Linked DNA regions of Homo sapiens: region 1 is linked to region 2. Evidence: promoter capture Hi-C in 16 types of primary human blood cells and fetal thymus (Javierre and others, 2016). All regions are on one chromosome and are shown on one strand. The core of a region is centred on a gene start or on the middle of the fragment in contact, and the rest is flanking DNA. Distances in the headings are between cores, read along the strand shown. Region 1 has its middle 70 kb from the start of TENT5B. Region 2 holds the start of TMEM222 (transmembrane protein 222).

Region 1 (5,534 bases), core at 2,063-4,562, 240 kb after region 2:
ATTAGTTTACTTTTGTTTTGTTTGTGTGTGTGTTGGGGGTGGAGAGTGGATATTAGAAATGTTTTTAAAGTGGTGGGAAATGACCCAGTAGAGAAGGAAACACTTTGATAAAGTAAAAGAGGTAGAGATTCAGAATCAAGACATTCTGAGGCCAGGCACAGTGGCTCACATCTGTAATCCCAGCACTTTGGGAGGCTGAAGCAGGAGGAGCTCTTGAGTCCAGGAGTTCAAGACAAGCCTGGGCAACATAGAGACACTGTGTCTCTACAAAAAACAAAAGACAAAAAAACATAGCCAGGCATGGGTGGTGGCCCATGCCTGTGGCCCCAGCTAGTCAGGAGGCTGAGGTGGGAGGGTCGCTTCGCCCAGGAGATTGAGGCATGATTGCACCACTGCACTCCAGTCTTGGTGACAGAGCGAGACCCTGTCTTAAAAAGAAGGAGAAGGAGGAAAAGAAGGAGAAGAAAGAGAAGAAGGGGAAGAAGAAGGAGGAGAAGAAGAAAAGAAGAAAGAAGAGAGAGAAAAAAAAGACACCCTTGAGAGAAGTAGGGACAACATCTCCAAAGTAGGAAGAAGCAGATGGGTTTGCAGATTTTGTGGAGGAAAGATGAAAAGGTGTCTGTGTGACTGAAGGCATTAATTCTCTCAATAAATAGTCAGGCAAGGTTACCAAATCAAATGAGAATGAATCTAGAAAGGGAAATAGGAAATTTGAAGAAAGAGGAAAAGAAGTGAAATAGTTACCTTGAGAAAGAGGAGAAGAAAGAAACTGTTCGTGTTAGAAAAACAGTAGAGTTTTCCGTGTCGAGTCCCTTTGATGTTTGAGAACAGTGGCACTGCTCAGCTCAGCTGTACGAATTTGTCAGTGATCTTCAGATACTTGAGTGCAGGCACCAAGACAGATGGGTTTTGCCAGGCAAATAAGATGAAGTCAAAGAGGGGTTATGGAGTTCCAGGTATTGGCAAAGAGATAGTGATAATGATAAACCATAGACCCTAGAAGAGACCCAAAGAGAGGTTAAGACTGGAGGAAGTTGAGAACTAGGATTAATGTACTGGACATATCCCTGGACGGGAGCATTATTAAATGGGTCTCTGTTAGTTGGGGATGAGGCTAAGGTGCTGTCACAAAGCTGTCCCCAAATACAGCAGCTTCACATAAGTGTTTTTTTCTCATGTAACGATCCTGAGATAAGTGGTCCAGGTTGTTGGGGCCACTGTGTGCCCTGCTGTCATTCAATGCCAGGTTCCTTCCATCTCATTGCTCCTCTGACATCCCCTAAGGTGTCCTCCTAATTTTCATGGTCAAACCATGGTCCGTGTTTAAACCACGGGAAGGAAATGAGCATGAAGGAGAAGGCACCTAAATTCTAAAGCCTGTAGTTGGAGGTGACACACATCAATTCTGCTCACATCCATTGCCAATAACTTATGACATAGCCCCACCCAGCTGCAGGGAGGCTGGGAACTGTAGTCTCTAGGTGGGCAGCTAAGTAACTCTACTGTTTATACAAAAGAAAGAGAGAATAGATTTTGGTGGACACCAAGCAGTCTTTGCCATAAAGGGTATTTTAGCAAATGAGCATGATAATTGCAATATGTTATCTTGTAAATTTATTTAATAATTCCCCTGTTTTGAACACATTTGCCTATTATAACATTTTACCTATTATAACTAGTTTGCCAATTGACATCTCAGTACATAAGCTTTAGGGAGTACAGTTTCTGGTAAACATCTTCCTAAAAACATCTTCCTGAAAATCAATGACCAGCTAATAATGAAATCACCAGTCAAACGTAAGTGAAATGAGAGGTAAGCCTGTTTTTTCCTGAGATCATTTGCTAGCCAGGTATACAGGGGCTTCAGGTTGGGTGGTCTCACAAAGTCCAGAACTTAACCAAGAAGGAGAATCTGATATGAGACCCCAAAGTGTCATACTCTCAGAGTAAGGGTGAACCAGAAGAAACCAATCCCCCACCCCCAGGGGCCTGCAAGGAAATATGCCCTGGTGCCACAAAGAGCAGGAAGAAGACAATCAGATATCTGAGAAGTTGCATCCTGACACTACCCCTTATGCAGAATCGCACAAGAAACTCACATCACCTCCCATGCTCTACACATCTTCAAACTGTGAATTCAGTTGAAAATGACCTCGGGCTTGTAATGCCCCTAGTACCTGATAGAAGCAAATGCAAATGTTCTCTGAAGGAATGCACCATCATCCTCAGCCTCAAGATTTCAATAAATTATGTGTTTTAAAAATGCAAACTGGGCTTTTAAGAGACAGGGTCGGGGCTGGGCCTGGTGGCTCACGCCTGTAATCCCAGCACTTTGGGAGGCCAAGGCTGGTGGATCACCTGAAGTCAGGAGTTCAAGACCAGCCTGACCAACATGGAGAAACTCCGTCTCTACTAAAAATACAAAATTAGCCGGGCATGGTGGCACATGCCTGTAATCGCAGCTACTCGGGAGGCTGAGGCAGGAGAATCGCTTGATCCTGGGAGGCGGAGGTTGCGGTGAGCCAAGATCGCGCCATTGCACTGCAGCCTGGGCAAAAAGAGCAAAACTCCGTCTCAAAAAAAAAAAAAAAAAGAGAGAGACAGGGTCGGCTGGGTGCAGTGGCTCACGCCTGTAATCCTAGCACTCTGGGAGGCTGAGGCGAGTGGATCACAGGGTCAGGAGTTCAAGAGCAGCCTGGCCAAGATGGTGAAACCCCGTCTCTACTAAAAATACAAAAACTAGCTGGGCGTGGTGGCGGGAGCCTGGAGTCCCAGCTACTCAGGAAGCTGAGGCAGGAGAATCGCTTGAACCTGGGGGGCAGAGGCTGCAGTGAGCCAGGATCAAGCCACTGTACTCCAGCCTGGGAGACAGAGCAAGACTCCGTCTCAAAAAAAAGAAAAGTGAACTGTTAACCACGCAAACAAGGGAATAAGGTACCATGAGAGACCATAAAAGGCAGATATTTTTAAGTATGTTAAAATTCAGAGACCCCATAAAGAGAATGAAAAAATGAGGCATAACATGGAATAATACTTGAACTCATAAAACTAATAAAGAAGTTCTATCCAGAATATATAAAGTACTCCTACAAATCAATAAGAAAAAGACAAATCCAACTGGGCGCGGTGGCTCAGGCCTATAAATCCCAGCACTTTGGGAGGCTGAGGCAGGCAGATCACGAGGTCAGGAGATCGAGACCAGCCTGGCCAACATGGTGAAACTTCATCTCTACTAAAAATATGAAAACTAGCTGGGCGTGGTGGCGCATAGGCTGTAATCCCAGCTACTCAGGAGGCTGAGGCAGGAGAATCACTTGAACCAGGGAGTCGGAGGTTGCAGTGAGCCGAGATCACAGCACTGCACTCCAGCCTGGCGACAGAGCAAGACTCCATCTCAAAAAAAAGAGAAAAAGACAAATCCACTGATAGAAAAATAGACAAATTGGCACACCTGTAATTCCCAACAGTTTGGGAGGCTGAGGCCTACAGATCACTTGAACCCGGGAGTTCAAAACCAGCCTGGGCAAAATGGTGAGACCCCCATCTCTACAAAATACACAAAGATTAGCCAGGTGTGATGGCATAAGCCTATAGTTCAAGCTATTCAGGAGGCTGAGGTGGGAGGATGGCTTGAGTCTGGGAGGTCAAGGCTGCAGTGAGCTGAGATCATGCCACTGCACTCCAACCTGGGCGACAGAGCAAGATTCTGTCTCAATTTAAAAAAAAAAGAGAAGAAAAATAAATACATATAATAGGCATGTGACAGAAAAAGAAAATTCAAATGGCTAATAAATATATGGAAAAGTGCTTCACTCCATAAATAAGCAGGGAAATGCAAAAACTGTAATGAAATACCATGATACATGTGCCAGTTAGGAAAATTCAAAAGCCTGGCAATGTCAAATAGTGGCGAGGACGTGGTGCAGCACGGCCTCTCATATGCTGCTGGCGTATATCAGTATAACGACCTCCCGGGAGAGTTTGGCATTTTCCAGTAAAGTAGTATAAATACTCAGGCCCTAAGACTCAGAAACAGGACAGGAAAAATCCCCTAAGAAGTGTATGCACTATGTACCAGAAAACATGTCCACAAATGTTCAGAGTAGAATTGTTTATGTACACTCAAAGTGAAATAATTCAAATGCCTGTCAATAGTAAAGTGGTCCCTGCACTTTGGGAGGCCAAGGTGAGCAGATCACTTGAGCCTAGGAGTTCGAGACCAGCCTGGGCAATATGGCAAGACCTCTGTTTCTACAAAAAATACAAAAATTAGCCAGGCATAGTGGCACATGCCTGTAGTCCCGGCTACTCGGGAGGCTAAGTCAAGAGGATCACTTGAGCCCTGGAGGTTGAGGCTGCAATGAGCCAAGATCACATCCAGCCTGGGCAACAGAGTGAGACTCCATCTCCACAAAAAAAAAAAAAAAAAAAAAAAAAAAAATATATATATATATATATATACAGTAAAGTGGATAATTTTTATAATCATACTATGGAATATTAAACAGCAATGAAAACAAACAAACTAGAACTTCACAATAACATATATTGATGGTGTAAATCCAATGGTGAACAAAAGAAGCAAACACAAGAGATCTACAGGGAATGATTCCATTTACATAAAGTTCAAGAAGAGAAAAATCTAAATTATATTGTATAGGGATGGATAAACTAGAAAGAACCATAAAACTATACTGGCAGACAGAGATTATCATAAAAATACAAGGATGATTACCCTTAAGAGGAAAGGAGGGATGTGATTGAGAAGGGGCACGTGGGGATTCCTGTGGTGCTGGAATTATTTCCGTTTCTTGAGTCGGGTGGTGAATACACAGATGTTTATTTTATAATTACACATTATGCACTTCTAATTTATGTACCTTTCTGTTTGTGAGCTATATTTTATAGTTAAGCTTTTAAACAGAAAGAAGTTATTATGAATAGCTTTATGCTAATATATTTAAAGATTTAGGCAAAATGGGCCAGATGCAGTGGCTCACGCCTGTAATCTCAGCACTTTGGGAGGCTGAGGCGGGTGGATCACTTGAGGTCAGGAGCTTGAGACCAGCCTGGCCAACATGGTGAAACACTGTCTCTACTAAAAATACAAAAATTAGCCAGGCATGGTGGTGGGCACCTGTAATTCCACCTATTGGGGAGGCTGAGGCAGGAGAATCACTTGAACCAGGGAGGTGGAGGTTGCAGTGAGCCAAGATTGTACCACTGCACTCCAGCCTGGGCAACAGAGCAAAACTCCATCTCAAAAAAAAAAAAAAAATAGGCAAAATGAACAAATTTCTGGAAAACTATTACTCTCCAAAACTGAATCAAACAGAAATAAAATACCTGAATAGTTCTATAACTAGTTGCACTAGTTAGCTATTGCTGTGTAACAAATTACCACAAACTCAGCTGCTTAAAAACACACATTTGCAGCCAGGCACAGTGGCTCACACCTGTAATCCCAGCACTTTGGGAGGCCAAGGTGGGTGGATCACAAGGTCAGGAGATCGAGACCATCCTGGCTAACATGG
Region 2 (5,609 bases), core at 957-3,456:
AATACATTTCCTGAGTATCCCTCCCAGTTATTTTCTTTTTTTTTGAAACGGAGTTTTGCTCTTGTTGTCCAGGCTGGAGTGCAAAAGCACGATCTTGGCTCACCGCAACCTCCACCTCCCGGGTTCAAGTGATTCTCCTGCCTCGGCCTCCTGAGTAGCTGGGATTACAGGCATGTGCCACCACCCCGGCTAATTTTGTATTTTTAGTAGAGATGGGGTTTCTCCATGTTGGTCAGGCTTGTCTTGAACTCCTGACCTCAGGTGATTCGCCCGCCTGGGCCTCCCAAAGTGCTGGGATTACAGGCCTGAGCCACCACGCCCGGCCCCTGTTATTTTCACACTAATATTTTATTTTCTTCACAGCACTCATCACTATCAGGTGCTCTTTTATTAGCTTACTTGTTTACTGTCTATCTCCTTCCACTATGACTTAAACTCTCAAAAGTCTAAAGACCATATCTCCTTTATTCATCACTGTATATTCGCATCACCTAGAACTATCTGGGAACACAGGGGTCACTTAGCACATGTGTTAGAAGAACACTGAATGAATTAATGTGCACATTTTCCTAAGATTTTATTTCACTATTTATTTTGAGACGGAGTTTCACTGTGTTGCCCATGCTGAAGTGCAGTGGTGCAATCTCGGCTCACTGCAAACTCCACTTCCCGGGTTGAGGCGATTCTCCTGCCTCAGCTTCCAGAGTAGCTGGGATTACAGGCACGTGCCACTATGCCCAGCTAATTTTTGTATTTTTAGTAGAGACGGGTTTCGCCACGATGGCCAGGTTGGTCTCGAACTACCTACCGATCCACCCTCCACTGCCTCCCAGAGTGCTGGGATTACAGGCATGAGCCACCGCGCCTGTCCCAATATTTTATTTTTAAAGAACAGATTTGGATGCTCTTATATGCATAAGTACTTGAAAACACAAAATAATTCAAGTATTTTAACATAATTCAAAAACTACGATCTTTTTAGAATCAGCAACACCTAAGGCCCCAAATGATCCCTTCTCCACATCACCACTGGCTGTTATTGATAGCGGAACAAGCTATCCCATCAGGTGAGAGTGGATAAGATGTAGTGCAAAGAGCAAGTTAGATCAGAAGACTGAGCTCTTCATGCCTTTGCTTATTGGGGTGCGAACCTGATCAAGACACTTAATGCTACAAGCAGCTCAGCTTCACCATCTGAGAAGATAACCTACCTTAGAAAATGGATGTTTAATTCTGATAAAATGGGTGTTTAAGAGCTTGGCAAACTATCCAGCACGGTGAGGAGGGGTTACGTTTATCAGCTGTCAAGGTTGAAGCAGGAGGGCAAACCACCTCTCCCCATATGAGAGCTCCTCCCAAAAGGCGCCAAGTAGTACCAGAGCACCTGCTTCTCCCCTGACAAAGGCTGATGTTACAGAAAGAACTTTGGTCTGGGAGGCAGACAACCTGGGATCTAAACCCAGTTTGCAACTGAGATGGCACGTGAGACAAAGGGTTGGACTCTCAGATCTCTGGGGGCCCTTCCAATGTTGACATCCCAGGATCTCGTGTGGTCCCAACCAAACTCCCACTCTTGCTCCCAGACCCAGCAGTATGTCTGGAATATGGTAAGCGACCAGTAAGCATTTGCTCAATGAGAGAATAAACCAGTGAATTAATAAAAATGTCTCCTCAGATCCGATAAGGGGCTCCCTCTTCTACACACTCACAGCTCGAGTCTCCCAGCCACTTGCCCTTTCCTGCTGGCCTACAACTCTCTCCCTGGCTACACCAGGTGTATTGAGAGCAGGGAGCGTGTCCCAGCCGTGTGCACAAACTGGCACTACATGGATGGCGGGGTTCTGGTGACTGGGCGAGGCGTGCGGGCCAGACCCGAGGAAAAGGCTTGCTGCGCGTTGGGGCCGGAGGCTAGCCCGGCCCGACTCCGGCTCTCCCTGGGCCCTCCTCGTCCCCAGGCGGATGCCGGAAGAGACTCACGTGAGCACCGGGATGGGCGTCCACACCACGCAGTAGGGGAAGCGACTCCGTTCCACATCCATGGCGACGCCGCCGGAGCCTTGATATTGCTTCATGTCCGTCTCGGCCGCCGTCGGCGCCTCCACTTCCGCCATCCTGGGCGGGGGTGGCGGCGGCGGCAACAAGAGCAGAGAACTCCCTTCCGCTTCCGCCATGCGGCGCGCGCCCCGCTCCGACTGGCCCCGGCTCTGGTGCCGCTCGTCCCCATGGCGTCACTTCCCGGAGATGGGGTCCGCCCCGCTTGGCCTTCCCCCGGGAATCCGAGCCGCGTTCCTCTGGGCCCGGCCAGCCCCGCCCCACTCCCTATGCGCCTGCCAGCCCCGAGTCTTTGCCGCTTATGCCCCGCGGCTGCAGAAGGGATGCTCTCAGGCAGTTCGCAGTCTAGCGCCGGAGACTTATAGAGAACTCTAATTCAGTACGCTGAGGGCTCCTAGGAGGTGTGGTACAGTCGCTATTTATTGAGCACTTCTTAGGTGCCAAGCACTTGACATGAATTGTTTCTAATCCCCATAAACTAATTAGACATCCAAATTAGGTATTCCCTCCTGTTACAGGTGAGAAACTGAGGTTCAAAAGGTGAGAGACCACGATGCAAACCCAAGTCTTTTTTTTTTTTTTTTTTTCTGAGGCGGAATTTTTTCTCTTGTTGCCCAGGCTGGAGGGCAATGGCACAATCTCGGCTCACTGCAACCTCCACCTCCCAGGTTCAGGCGATCCTGCCTCGGCCTCCCGAGTAGCTGGGATAACAGGCGCGTGCCACCACGCCCGGCTAATTTTTGTATTTTTAGTAGAGGTGGCGTTTCACCATGTTAGCCAGGATGGTCTCAAACTCCTGACCCTGTGATCCGCCCGCCTTGGCCTCCCAAAGTGCTGGGATTACAGGCGTGAGCCACCGCGCCTGGCCCAAACCCAAGTCTTATACCTCCCTTGCCCTTTTCATTCTGTGGCCCTCTCACGAGGTAGTGGTAGCATAAAGGAAGACACACACAGTTGTGTGTGCGCACGTGTGTGTGTGTGTGTGTTTTATTGTATATACAGGGAAGACTTGCTGGAAGATAGGATATTATTGAGTTGAGTCTTGATGTTTGCCATGTGGCACAGGAGTGGAAGTATGAGTGCAGCGGTACAAAGAAAGGAAGGCCGTGCAGAGCAGTGTGTGCAAGAGTGTGAATACTTACTGGAGTAAATCATAAGCCTTAGATGTGATCCAATCCCTTCATTGTACAAATGGGAAAACGGGCTCAGGGAAGTTAATTGTTTGAGATCACACACAACCATAATTAGAGAGAAGCCAGGCTCAAATGTTGGAGACTTTTGGCTTTTTAAAGGATGTCAAGACAAAGAAAATGAAGTCTACTGGGGTCTACTGGGGTGGGGAGGGGAAGTTGGGGACAGCCCAAAGTCAGAAGGAAGGCTGCCACTAAAAATCAGCCTTAAAGAAAAAAAAAAAAGAATAAAAAGAGTAATCAGGTAAAGGAAGGTATGGACAAATGCACTCAGGAAGTTAGGAGCTTCCCATTTGGGGAAGGTCCTTCTTCCACTGAATTACCCTCCCTCAATGCTGATCTATGGAGAGCTTGCTGTCCTGTTTGTAGCACCTAATATTTTCATGTTTTTTTGTGGGGGATGTCTGTCTCTGCTATAGAACTCTAAGGTCCTTGACTTCAGTAGCTGGCACAGTTCCTGGTGCAAAGCATATGCCCACTAGATGTTTACTGATTTATTAGGTGATTGAATAAATGGATGTTTTATAAAGACCTCAGAGATTCGCAGGCATGATAATGATTACAGTGGGTTAGAAAATGATTCTAACCCACTCCAAATTCTTTGAGCACGTTTGTACCTCTCCTTGACCCCTGTGCAGTGTGTGATCCTTGAAGGGCAACAACCAGCATCCAGCACAGGGTTTGGAATAGATTAGGTGTGTAGTTTACAGTTGTTGAGAATAAATTACATGACTTCTTGATTCAATCACTGTAGTTATCTAATCTCTTCTGGACCACAGGCTGTGAGGAAGGTCTGTGCCTTAGACATCTCCCTACCATGACTGTCAGCCCATAATTCTAGCACAGGGTTGCTGGGTACCCTTTAAACATTTATTGTAGGTATTGATGAATAAACAACCAAAGTAAGTCTCTCAGGGCCTGCCACAAGTTTGGTAGTACTAATACACGTACCACATTTAATCTGCCAAACTTCAATGGCTTCCCGTTGCACTTCGTATGAAACACAAATATCTTACTATGGCTCACAAAGCCCTGCACCATCTGGACCCATGCCCCTTCCTTATTTACTATACTACAGCCATCCTGGCCTTTTCTTTCAGTTCCTCTCATGCACTCCTTCATATTCCAGGGACTTGGCACACACTGTTCCCCTCTGCCTGAAATACTACTCCTATCTACTTAAAGCGGCTAACTTTCATTCTTCCAGTCTCAGATCAAATATTACTTTCTCAGCCCATCCCTGGTCTCCCAATCTAAATGAGAAAGCCCCCATTAATCTCCTGTTCTTTTTCTTCATAGCTTCTTTGTAGCTATGTACTATTTGCCTCCCCCACTTGACTGGAAACTCTATTTGTCTTGCTAACGTGTGTATACCCAATGCCCAGTATAGTGCCTAGTGCATGGTATTTGTTTAATCAATATTTGTTAAATTGAATGAAAGGCAAATACTTACAGGCTTGGTATCACGTGCTGGTTACAGTCTAAACGCAGGAACCTGCTACCTCTTGGTGTCCCAAACCTTTTCAATGGGCTTGGGTTGGTGGGAACAGTGCTCAGGCAGAGGATCAGACCACAGAGCCCTGGCTCCTTTCCTAAGGTCCACGTCATCCTACCCTTGGCCTAGGCAGCTGCAGAAACGTGGCATGAGGAGGGCCGGGTACCTGGAGGTAGAAGCCAGATCCTCTGGTGCCTGTCCCACAGGCTTGCCCCGCACCACAACCCATCCACAAGATTTTTTTTTTTTTTTTTTTTTTTTTTTGAGACAGAGTCTCACTCTGTCACCAGGCTGGAGTGCAGTGGCACAATCTTGGTTCACTGCAACCTTTGCCTCCTGGGTTCAAGCAATTCTCCTGCCTCAGCCTCCCCGAGTAGCTGGGACTACAGGTGCGCAACACCACACCCAGCTAATTTTTGTATTTTTAGCAGAGATGGGGTTTCACCATGTTTGGCCAGGATGGTCTTGATCTTTTGACCTTGTGATCCACCTGCGTCAGCCTCCCAAAGTGCTGGGATTACAGGCATAAGCCACCGTGCCCGGCCTTTTTTTTTTTTTTTTTTTTTTAAATAATGGATTCATCCCTGCAGAACACTCCTTCTCACATATACACCTTGGTTCTCTCACCCAATTGTAAGAGTCTCTCTGGCCTGTGCCCTGGACTCCTCTGCTGTTGCTTCCTTATCACCCATAAACAGATGGGAAATCTCCATCAAAGACTAATATTTCCTTCCAGGCTCACAGGATCACAGCAGGGTCCTGGAGGAAGCTCCTGTTATGGCTGAGCTTGGGACAGGATTGATAGGTTTCAGAGCTATCCCTCCCCCAACACACACCCCAACCTAAAATAGGAATGACCATCTGGATCCACT

Evidence for each region. Contacts are between HindIII fragments. The CHiCAGO score rates a contact against its expected background, and 5 or more counts as called.
Region 1: a contact is called between a fragment that was not itself captured here and the fragment with the promoter of TMEM222 in region 2, in 1 of 17 cell types (endothelial precursors). The highest score is 6.4, in endothelial precursors.

What each region holds. Positions count from the first base shown.
Region 1 is chr1:27,080,011-27,085,544 of GRCh38, reverse strand. No RefSeq gene overlaps it. Among named protein-coding and RNA genes, the nearest start is that of TENT5B, 70 kb to the right of the region's middle. The HindIII fragment of the contact is 3,206 bases long and covers 1,710-4,915 here.
Region 2 is chr1:27,318,760-27,324,368 of GRCh38, reverse strand. It overlaps TMEM222 (transmembrane protein 222), which reads right to left and starts at 2,206. Exons shown (of 6, transcript NM_032125.3): 1 at 1,978-2,206. The coding sequence starts at 2,171. It also overlaps the pseudogene ACTG1P20. RefSeq lists enhancers at 1,151-1,697, 1,849-2,198, 1,698-2,245, 2,246-2,792. The HindIII fragment of the contact is 7,674 bases long and covers 1-5,609 here.